2 separate regions of the Homo sapiens genome follow, and region 2 is linked to region 1. Evidence: promoter capture Hi-C in human tissues and cell types (Jung and others, 2019). All regions are on one chromosome and are shown on one strand. The core of a region is centred on a gene start or on the middle of the fragment in contact, and the rest is flanking DNA. Distances in the headings are between cores, read along the strand shown. Region 1 holds the start of RNF26 (ring finger protein 26). Region 2 overlaps PHLDB1 (pleckstrin homology like domain family B member 1).

Evidence for each region. Contacts are between HindIII fragments. The study calls those that stand out against the background at their distance.
Region 2: a fragment that was not itself captured here is called in contact with the fragment with the promoter of RNF26 in region 1 in 1 of the 25 tissues and cell types used here (dorsolateral prefrontal cortex).

The regions. Positions count from the first base shown.
Region 1 is chr11:119,332,258-119,336,733 of GRCh38, reverse strand. RNF26 (ring finger protein 26) reads right to left here and starts at 2,207. Exons shown (of 1, transcript NM_032015.5): 1 at 1-2,207. The coding sequence starts at 1,611. The coding sequence ends at 310. RefSeq lists an enhancer at 1,674-2,565. The HindIII fragment of the contact is 13,723 bases long and covers 1-4,476 here.
Region 2 is chr11:118,621,661-118,626,228 of GRCh38, reverse strand. PHLDB1 (pleckstrin homology like domain family B member 1) reads right to left here. Exons shown (of 23, transcript NM_001144758.3): 5 at 1,170-1,295. Among named protein-coding and RNA genes, the nearest start is that of PHLDB1, 16 kb to the right of the region's middle. The HindIII fragment of the contact is 8,405 bases long and covers 1-4,568 here.

The DNA of each region.
Region 1 (4,476 bases), core at 958-3,457:
AACCCCAGAGGCATCTGGGTGGGCCCTGGGCAGGCTGGAGGAGAGCCCACAGCAAATAGTCTCAGGGCCCTTGCATAGTGACATACTCACCACCCTCAGCATCGAAGGGACCCACTGGGTAAAGAGAAGCCATGTTATCCTGCCCCCACCCAGATCATAGTCTTCCAACTCAATGTCCTGGATGTATGGCAGGATGGCCACAGGGGTAGGAGGGGATTCAGACCAGGACCCGGAGATGAGGTGTTAATGCTGTCCTAGCGTGAGTGCCTGCGTGGAGCATGGAGGGGTGGGCAGGCAGGGAAGGAGGCTTCAGAGGTAGACATTGAGGGTCTGCAGGATGCCCCGGCGGCAGAGCGGGCAATTGCGGTGGTAGACGGGGTGGCGCATCAGGATTTCAGTGCAGGCCTGGCACAGGCACAGATGCCGGCAGGGCAGGAGCAACACTGTCTTGCTCTGGTCCTGGCAGATGACACACTTCTTCCGCTCCTCTTGCTCCTTCAGCAATTTCCAAGGGTCTTGCCCACCTGGAGGCTCCTCCTCATTGAGCCTCTCTCGGCCCCTGACAGGTGTCACTCTGATGGTCCTGGCCTCCTCCTCTTCTGCCTCTGATCTGCGCCCCGCTTCAGGAAGAGTGTCCTGTCTCCGGGTCCTAACTGAGAATACCCTCATAGGGTCACCCTGGGGAGCTCCAGGTGCCCCTCCCCGGTTTGGCCAACTCGCCAGCTGCAGACTGCGGCTCCAGACTCGGCGCCAGGCCTCTGAGCCCAGTGCTAGGCGAGAGAGCCGCATGACATCCTCTCGAAGACGGTGGTAGGATGGCCGGGCATGGAGCTGGCTGAGTGCCTGGGTAGCCAGCCTCAGGGTGAAGTCCGGATGCAACACAGTCACCGTCACTGCCAGCACACAAGCTAGCAACACCAAGCCAGTGAGATTGACAAGCACAAAGCTGGCCAGGAGGCGGGCAGCTGAGGCCAGCAGCTCCAGGGCTAGTTGGCAGGGTGTCCAAAGGAGGATGGCCATGGCCACAGCACTGCTGGAAATGTGGGCTAGGAAGGCAGCCACTACGTCCGTCATCCTCCACAGAGGCCCGGTCACTGCATCCCACAGGGCCAGCACCAGGGAAAAGAGGTTCTGAGTGCCGATGAGGCAGATGTTGACCAGGCTGTTGATCACATAAGCCACCAGGCTCATGGCAATGGCACAGATGTCACAGGCCTGGCGCAGCAAAGCATGGCCACTGGAGACCACATTGAGGACGCCCCGGTGCAGTATCTCCCTGCTCCGCAGTGCCCCATGAGAGGCCAGGTGCCCCAGGAGCTTTAGGCTCTCTAGGCCAGAGCAGCAGCTATACAGCAGAGTACACAAGGCCTGCAAGCCCCCACATGTGAACCGGACCACGGCTTCGATCAAGGCCAGCAATGAAAGCAAGACTCCGCGGCCCAAGTGCAGAAGACTAGTCAGTACCGTGTGCGGCAGGTTGTAGACGAAGGCCAGGAGCCAGGCCAGGGAAGCCAGGAGGGAGGACACCAGCAGGAAGTTGAGGTCCAACACCAAGGTCAGCACGTCCAGCACCAGGCCCAACCCATTCACTACCAGGTACACTGCCTCCATGATAGGGCTATGGAAGTTAGTCCAAAACAAAGTCTGGCTCCTCGGTTGGGGGGTTGTCAAGGTTGTCAATATTTTAGGGGGTCTGGGATTAATTTGGAAGGAAAATGAGCAGTCTCCAACCCAGGGGGTACCAAGAATCTGAGGAAGAAGTGGGTAAGACGGAAGTGGAGTCTTGGTAGAGGGAAAGGTGGCCAGGTGCCAGTCCAAGAGTCCAGGTTTTGAAGATGGGCTGTTTGGGAGGGAAGAGGCCAAACATCTCTAAAGCGAAGGCGAGCCCAGGCCGTAGGAGCGACCTCAGCTTTGGATGCCTGGTGTGGCGAACCACGGCCGGGCAACGGGTCAGACCGGGAGGAGACGAGGAACGGATGGAATGGGATCGGATCGGATCGGGTCGCGTCGGGTCGGGCCGGGGCCGGGTGGGGTCGATGTAAGCTGGGCGCAGGCTCTCAGTCCAGCTACGCAGGTGCCCCTGTCCCCGCCCGGCCCCCGTCTTCCCGCTAGCGGCGCTTTGCACCCAAAAGGGGAGTGGGAGAGGCAGCCAGCTTCAGCAAACCCCAAGCGCAGCCCCTACTCCGCTGGGCGCCGCCATCTTGTGTGCAAAGGGGTGGAGCCAGAGGCGTGACGAGGAGGGAGGGACGACAAACTCCAGCCAATCGGTGAAGGCCAACCACAAAAACGTCGATCACTCATTGGTCCGTTTGAATGGCGCCCGAACGTATTTACTTTCCAAAGGGAAGGAGAGGCGACAGATTAAATCCCCTCCCCCTTTAGGCGGGGATTGGTTCGTTGGCGGGCAGCGTCGAAATACGCTCTCCTAGCCCCACCCTCTAAAAGAGCAGGGTCTTGGACTCCCCTCAATTTGGGAGCTGTTCTTTCTCCCGGCCTCTGAACGCGAGGTTTTTTTTTTGGCTTGGGTCGGAGGTCACTGCCTCTGGGCTGGGCTTTGGAATAGCACCGCCTTCGCAGCCTGCCCAGATCCGTCTCCTCATTCTCTTCTATTTATTCATCTATTCTATCATTTATTGAACTCCTACAGTGCATTGAGGATACAAAAAAATTTTAAGACAGTGCCTGCTGTTCACAAGGGAAAGCAGATTATTACAGGGGATTCCCAAACTGCTATTCCAAACTTTCCTCACCAGGTTTTTCAACATCTCGGAAGATTACTTCATTGTCATTGAGAAAAAGGGGCTACAGATTTAGAAACCGCTCAGCTTCCTACCCTGGGCCTTCCTACCCTAGAGTGCAGTGGCGCGATCTCGGCTCACTGCAACCTCTGCCTCCCGGGTTCAAGCGATTCTCCTGCCTCAGCCTCCCGGGTAGTACAGGTGCCCACCACCTCACCCGGCTAATTTTTGTATTTTTAGTAGAGACGAGGTTTCACCATGTTGGCCAGGCTGGCCTCGAACTCCTGAACCTCGTGATCCACCCGCCTCGGCCTCCCAAAGTGCTGAGATTACAGGCGTGAGCCACCAAGCCCGGCCCTGCCCTTTTCTTTAATACTCAAACAATAGTCAAAATATATTTGAAACCCCATCCCAAATATATTGGGAATCCTGGCGTTTTCTACTAACTCCAAGGATGCTTAGCAGACTCCTAGTGGACTTATCTTTCCCCTGGTCACCTTTGCTGAATTTCCTACTTGAGTTGAATTCTCCATCTCCACTCCTGGGCTCCTGAAAGTGTCCGTCCTCCTTCAGTCTGCCCTGAACACTGCCTCAGAGTCCTTCATTCTCCAAAGCATCACTGATAAGAAGCTGAGGTGTGCAGCAAACCTTTACTGAGGCCTTGGGATCGTGGTAGGGGTACGCTATAGTGCAGAGGAAGGACTGCAGTCGCTGAAACTCCTCTGGCTTCTTCCTACCCTTTCTCTCTCCCTGCTCTCAGGCCCTGGCCAGGTTATGGTTTGTTGTGTTGTGATGTGTTGCTGATGTTTTTATTTTCCTACTCGCATCCTCCCGCCAGTGTCAAATCTTGGAGAATGTGCCCACCTCCCTTTCAAGACAGTTGATCCCATCGCCCGTACCATCTCCTCTTAAGGGATCTTATTTGTCCAGTGAACACTATGTTGTTATTAATCAATCTTCCTCCAGCACTTGACACCACTTCCTCCACCCTTGGCCTCAGAATCATTACCCTTTCCTATATTCTTTCTGTTTCCATCATAGCCTCCTCTCCTGTATACACGATGATTTCTGAATTTGTGTCTTCAGCCTGAACCTGTCCTGCAAACTTCAGGCTCCAGCTGCTTCCTGGACATGAACGGTTCATGGGTATCCCACTGGTGCTTCCTACACAATATGTCCAAAGTCAAACTTGGCAAACGTGCTGTGCCTGCACTGCGTGCAATTAACTGGCCAGTTTTCCACACCAAGAAGCATGTAAAGTCCTTCTCAGAGTTGGCAGGATCCTCTAAGAGAGAATTTCCATTCGTTTAGGACCAAGACCTCCCCTTTGAGTGATTTGAGACTCACTAATCCAAAGCCCTCTTTAATGAGCCACAACCCTTGACTCCCAGGAAACCTAGCAGGTAATCCTGCTTTGGGCAGGGACAAAGACTCCAACTGGCTTTGGGGAGGCAGTTCAAATTGTTTGACAATGTTAGTCCCAGGGATTGAGAAGAAAATAAGCCAGATATTGAGAAAGCTGAACACCTAGAAGCCCTATCCTTGCAGTATTTTCTAATGGAAGATGTAGTGTAAAGCCCTCTGGAGGCCTGCTCTGGTGGCAGCTGGTTTCTGCTGTTGTGCTAACTTCAGGGGTTTTTTTGTTTAGTTTTGTTTTGCTCAGCGTAAGATTCTAGCTGGGACAATAGAAGGGATTTTTAGAGACTATGAAGGACTGAGGATTAAGAGATTGGAAAAA
Region 2 (4,568 bases), core at 859-3,358, 710 kb after region 1:
TGCAGGGCTGGGTGAGGGGTGTGTGCTGCACCACTTCGTCCAATCAGAGGCAGGGGAGGGAGCTAGTGCTAATGGCTGGTTCCTGGAAGCCAGGCTGCCAGCAAGGAGGTGAAGCTCAGTGCCTCCAATTATCCCATTAAGCCATGCCAGCAAGAGCCTGCTTTTGCCATGCCCCAGCACTAGTCAACCATATAGGAGTCCCTGGAACCACTGCCCCAAACAGCTAAGGGAGTGACATGACAAGGCTGGGGTGGGGGCAGGGTAAAATTAACTAGGGAGTAGACTGGGAACCCAGGCTTCTGAGCCCCCAGAGGACTGGAAAAGATCGAGGGTAGGGAAAAGAGAAGGGAAAGCCTTTGCAAGACTGAGTTTGGGTCCAAAATTATGGAGACTGTGTGGGATATAGTCAGAGGGGATGCCATGGATACTGATAATCCCAGTGATCACTCACCTTTCTTCAGGTCCCCAGGCTATCCACTTAGGCTGCTGATACCACCCCACTAGGTGTACCTGACATCCATGTCCATCTGTCCCAGCACCTGTCACCCCATAGCCATCTAAATGCCAGTGCAAAGTCTGAGATGGTAAACCCATAATAGCCTCCTGGTCTGCACCCCTCCTGCCCCCCTGTGCAGCTGGGCTGAGGGGGCCTGTGTTGGTTCCCCAGAACAATCACCAATTCTCTTCTGGGGATCAATAATTCACACACAAAATACAGCTGCTCCACTGAGTCATCAGCGGGCAGGGCATGGAGTGAGGGTTGGGCGAGGCCCAAGGACATGATCCCCACCACAGCTTACAGGGAGTTCAACCTAATGCTTCCTTCTGCCCCTCAGGGTACCCTAGAGGGTGAGGCTCCCTGTGGTGACACAAGTGGGCCAGAGTTCCAGACACTGAGTGGCATCCTCCAGGGCAGTGGGGTACAAGCTGGCAGAGCTTGCCATCCCTCGAGGCACATAATTTCCCAATTTTAGCTAAGCAGCACTGCCTTGGTTAGCTCTCAGTGGCCCCACTGCCTGGCATTCTCCACCCGCCCATGGCAGGTGGCAGTGAGCCCAGACCTTAGGTATTGTCTTGCCCTAACACTCCAAGTGTGGCTGAAGTGAGCAAGGAGGAGGACTGCTGCAGGAACACCATCAACCCAGCACCCTGCCCCCGTCGGTACCTACCAGGAACAGGGCTGTAGGGGGGCCCAGGGGCTCGGCCCCCTGCTGGAATCATGCTTTTCATCCACTTGGCTTCAGCCGGGTGGTTAAAGCGAAGGAAGGTGGACTGACCCAGGCACAACATGCAGCCTGCAGAGAAAGCAAACACTTGAAGACCAGGTGTGGTGGCTCACACCTGTAATCCCAACACTTTTGGAGGCGGAGGAGGGTGGATCACCTGAGGTCGGGAGTTGGAGACCAGCCTGGCCAATGTGGTGAAGTCCCGTCTCTACTAAAAATACAAAAATTAGCCGGGTGTGGTGGTGGACGCCTGTAATCCCATAATCCCAGCTACTCAGGAGACTGAGATCAGAGAATAGCTTGAACCCAGGAAGCGGAGGTTGCAGTGAGCTGAGATCATGCCACTGCACTCCAGCCTACATGACAAGAGCTAAACTCTGTCTCAAAAAAAAAAAAAAAAAAAAAAAAAAAAGAAAGGAAGAAAGAGAGAAAACACTTGGAAGGGCAGGCAGGACTGAAGTTACCCCACCTCACAGCACTAGCAGGCTCACCTCAGCTCTAAAGACCCATCCTCATCTGCTCTCAGAGTCCACACAGTCCACACCTGACCTTGCCTGTGCTTGAGATGGGCACCTCCAGGGCTCCGCAGCACAAGACAGAGTAGAAAAAGCACTGGTGAGTGAGTCCCAAGATCTGAGTCCTCGTCCTAATTCCTCTTCTTACTAGCTGTGAGATCTCTGGGTGAAGTAACTTCACCTCTGAATCTAGTTCTCTTAATCAGAAAAATGGGGACAATACCACTGATCTTGTAGGGTTAATAAGACAGTGTATGTGAAAGTACTCTGTAAAAATATATTCAGAGAGGCCAGGCATGGTGGCTCACACCTGTAATTCCAGCATTTTGGGAGGCCAAGGCGGGCGGATCACCTGAGGTCAGCAGTTCGAGACCAGCCTGGCCAACATGGTGAAACTCCGTCTCTACTCAAAATACAAAACTTAGCTGGGGGTGGTGGCGTGCGCCTGTAGTCCTAGCTACTTGGGAGGCTGAGGCAAGAGAATTGCTTGAATCCAGGAGGCAGAGGCTGCAGTGAGCCGAGATCACACCACTGCACTCCAGCCTGGGCAACAGAGCGAAACTCCGTCTCACACACACACACACACACACACACACACACACACACACACACAAATGTTCAGAGAACACAGACACACCTGTCCCCCAACCCCAGCCTGTATCCATGATCCATCTATCTGCCCCTTGGGTAGAAGGGTAGAAGAGTCAGTCTGAGAGGCAGCAACTTCCAGGGTCACAAAAAAAAACTGAGATAGGGAACAAGGGGAAAAACCATGGATCAGTCAGATGAACCGGGGGGGTCCTGAATTTGCTCCCACTCTTTCTTGTTTTGTGACCTTAGGAGAGCTGTGCACTGCAAGTCTAGGGAGCGACCACCACCTTTCTTTCTGACTAAGCACCCTCTGCATGCTCCCTGGTCTCCCCTGGCATCAGGCCAAGACTAGGCCACCAGGCCCGGCCTCAGCCAAGCACATTCCCAGGCAGTAGACACAAGCCCAGTCCTGCCCGGGAAGTGTGAGTACCTGGAGGGGGAGGGCATGTGGGAGCTGGAAAATGTAGCCAGGGGCACCTGGAGTGTGCACAGTGGCAGATGTGCCCACAGGCGCCTAACTGTAGCTAGCAGAACTCCACCTCCCAGCCACACCAGGTGCTGGAGGGCTACTGCAGAAGATACTATGTTGGGAGAAGCCAGAGCCCTGTTGCTCTCTACCACCAATCCTTCCAATTTGTCCACACCCCTGGCCCCCGGCCTCAGCCTCCTGTCTACCCAATCTGGTGCCACTTGGCACCCCAAGCTTCACGCCAGTCTGAGCTAAGACTGGCAGAGAAGTCTACATTCCTGGACGCTGAGACAGTTCAGCTCAGGCAGGCCGCAAGGGCAAGAGGCATCCCAGGCCACGTGAGTACCTTGGCAGGTCCCTTACTGAGAAGCTCAGGAGCCTGTTCCTGGGATCCTGGGCATTGCTTGGGTTGGGGGTTTAGTAGGCTGAGAAGCCCATGGCAGATAACCATAGTGGATAAAGCCACTCACTATCCTGGCATACACAAAGGCCCTCCCAGGCAGCCAGACACCAACAATTCTAAAGGAGAGAGAGGGAGCCTTCCCTGCCAAGTCACCAATCAGAGAAGAGGATCCCAGAGTATTCAAAACTGGAATAAATAATAGCCAACCACACTGTCCACCTAATTACAACCACAGCTGTTTCAGAAAGAGCCCTGTCAAGCCCCTCCCCCTCCATTTAGCCATTTAACAAGCCTACTGGTGATGAGTTCACAGGGTCTAGACAGAGCCACTCAACCCAGGGTCGTGGGTGGTAGGGATCAGGAGCCTGACCACACAGTCCAGGCTGGGAAGGAGGCAGGGAGTCTGAGTGGATTCCAGCCCAGCAGTCCCAGGCCCACCCAAGTAGGATGTAGGCATCTAGGGATCCTCTGCCTGGGCCCCTATAGCTGTGTGTTTTCTGCCCCCTCCTCAGCCCTTCACCCTCCCCGGCATAAGGGGGTGTGGCCATGCTGCCTCTGGGCTATAAATAGTGATGCCAGGCAGCAGAGCTGGATCCGTATTAATAGAGCGGGCAGGAGGGCAGCAGGACTGAGAGCAGCCCAGCTCCTGCCCAAATTAACTTTCTATTTGCATGCAGAAGCTTCAGGCATTGCCCTGATGCTGGCCCCTACAGCCCCCAGGGGTCTGGCCAGCCTGTTTCTGGGAAGAAGCCTCCTCTCTGCCCACTCCCACCCCAACCCGCAAAGGCCAGCCCTTTCAGGGAGCCCAGGAATCCCTGCCCATCCTGCCAAAGTCATGATCAGTGTCCCCCATGCCCAGGGGGGATCAGGGTCCAGCTGTGTGCAGGTGGGTGGAGGAGCTGCACATCTGGAGGGGAAAAACTGGGCGAAGGAGAGGGTGAATCCTATCTGTGAGAGATGCAGAGGAGAAACACCAACACAAACAGGCTCACACTCATACACACTCATAGTAACACAACAGACTTATGGGCGTACATGCTCACACACTCTCAGAGCTACTGTCACTGCCCTCCTGGTCACACAAATAGAATGGATTGTCCAAAGGGAGACCGAGTGAAGGGAATATGGGAGGAAGGGCCTTGGTCCTTCCTATCAGAGACCCTCCTTGGCCATAAGGTAGACTCCCCTCATTCTAACCAGGACTCTTTAACCCCATCTGAGGGAGGTGGGTCCTAAGGAGGGGACTGCCGGAGCGCTGGAGAAGATAAGGTCTACCGGCTGAGAAGTGCCCCCAAGCCCAGAATCCCCATTTAGAAATGTTCAGGGAACACACACAATCGAGTCTCTCAGCCTCAAGCTCCCAA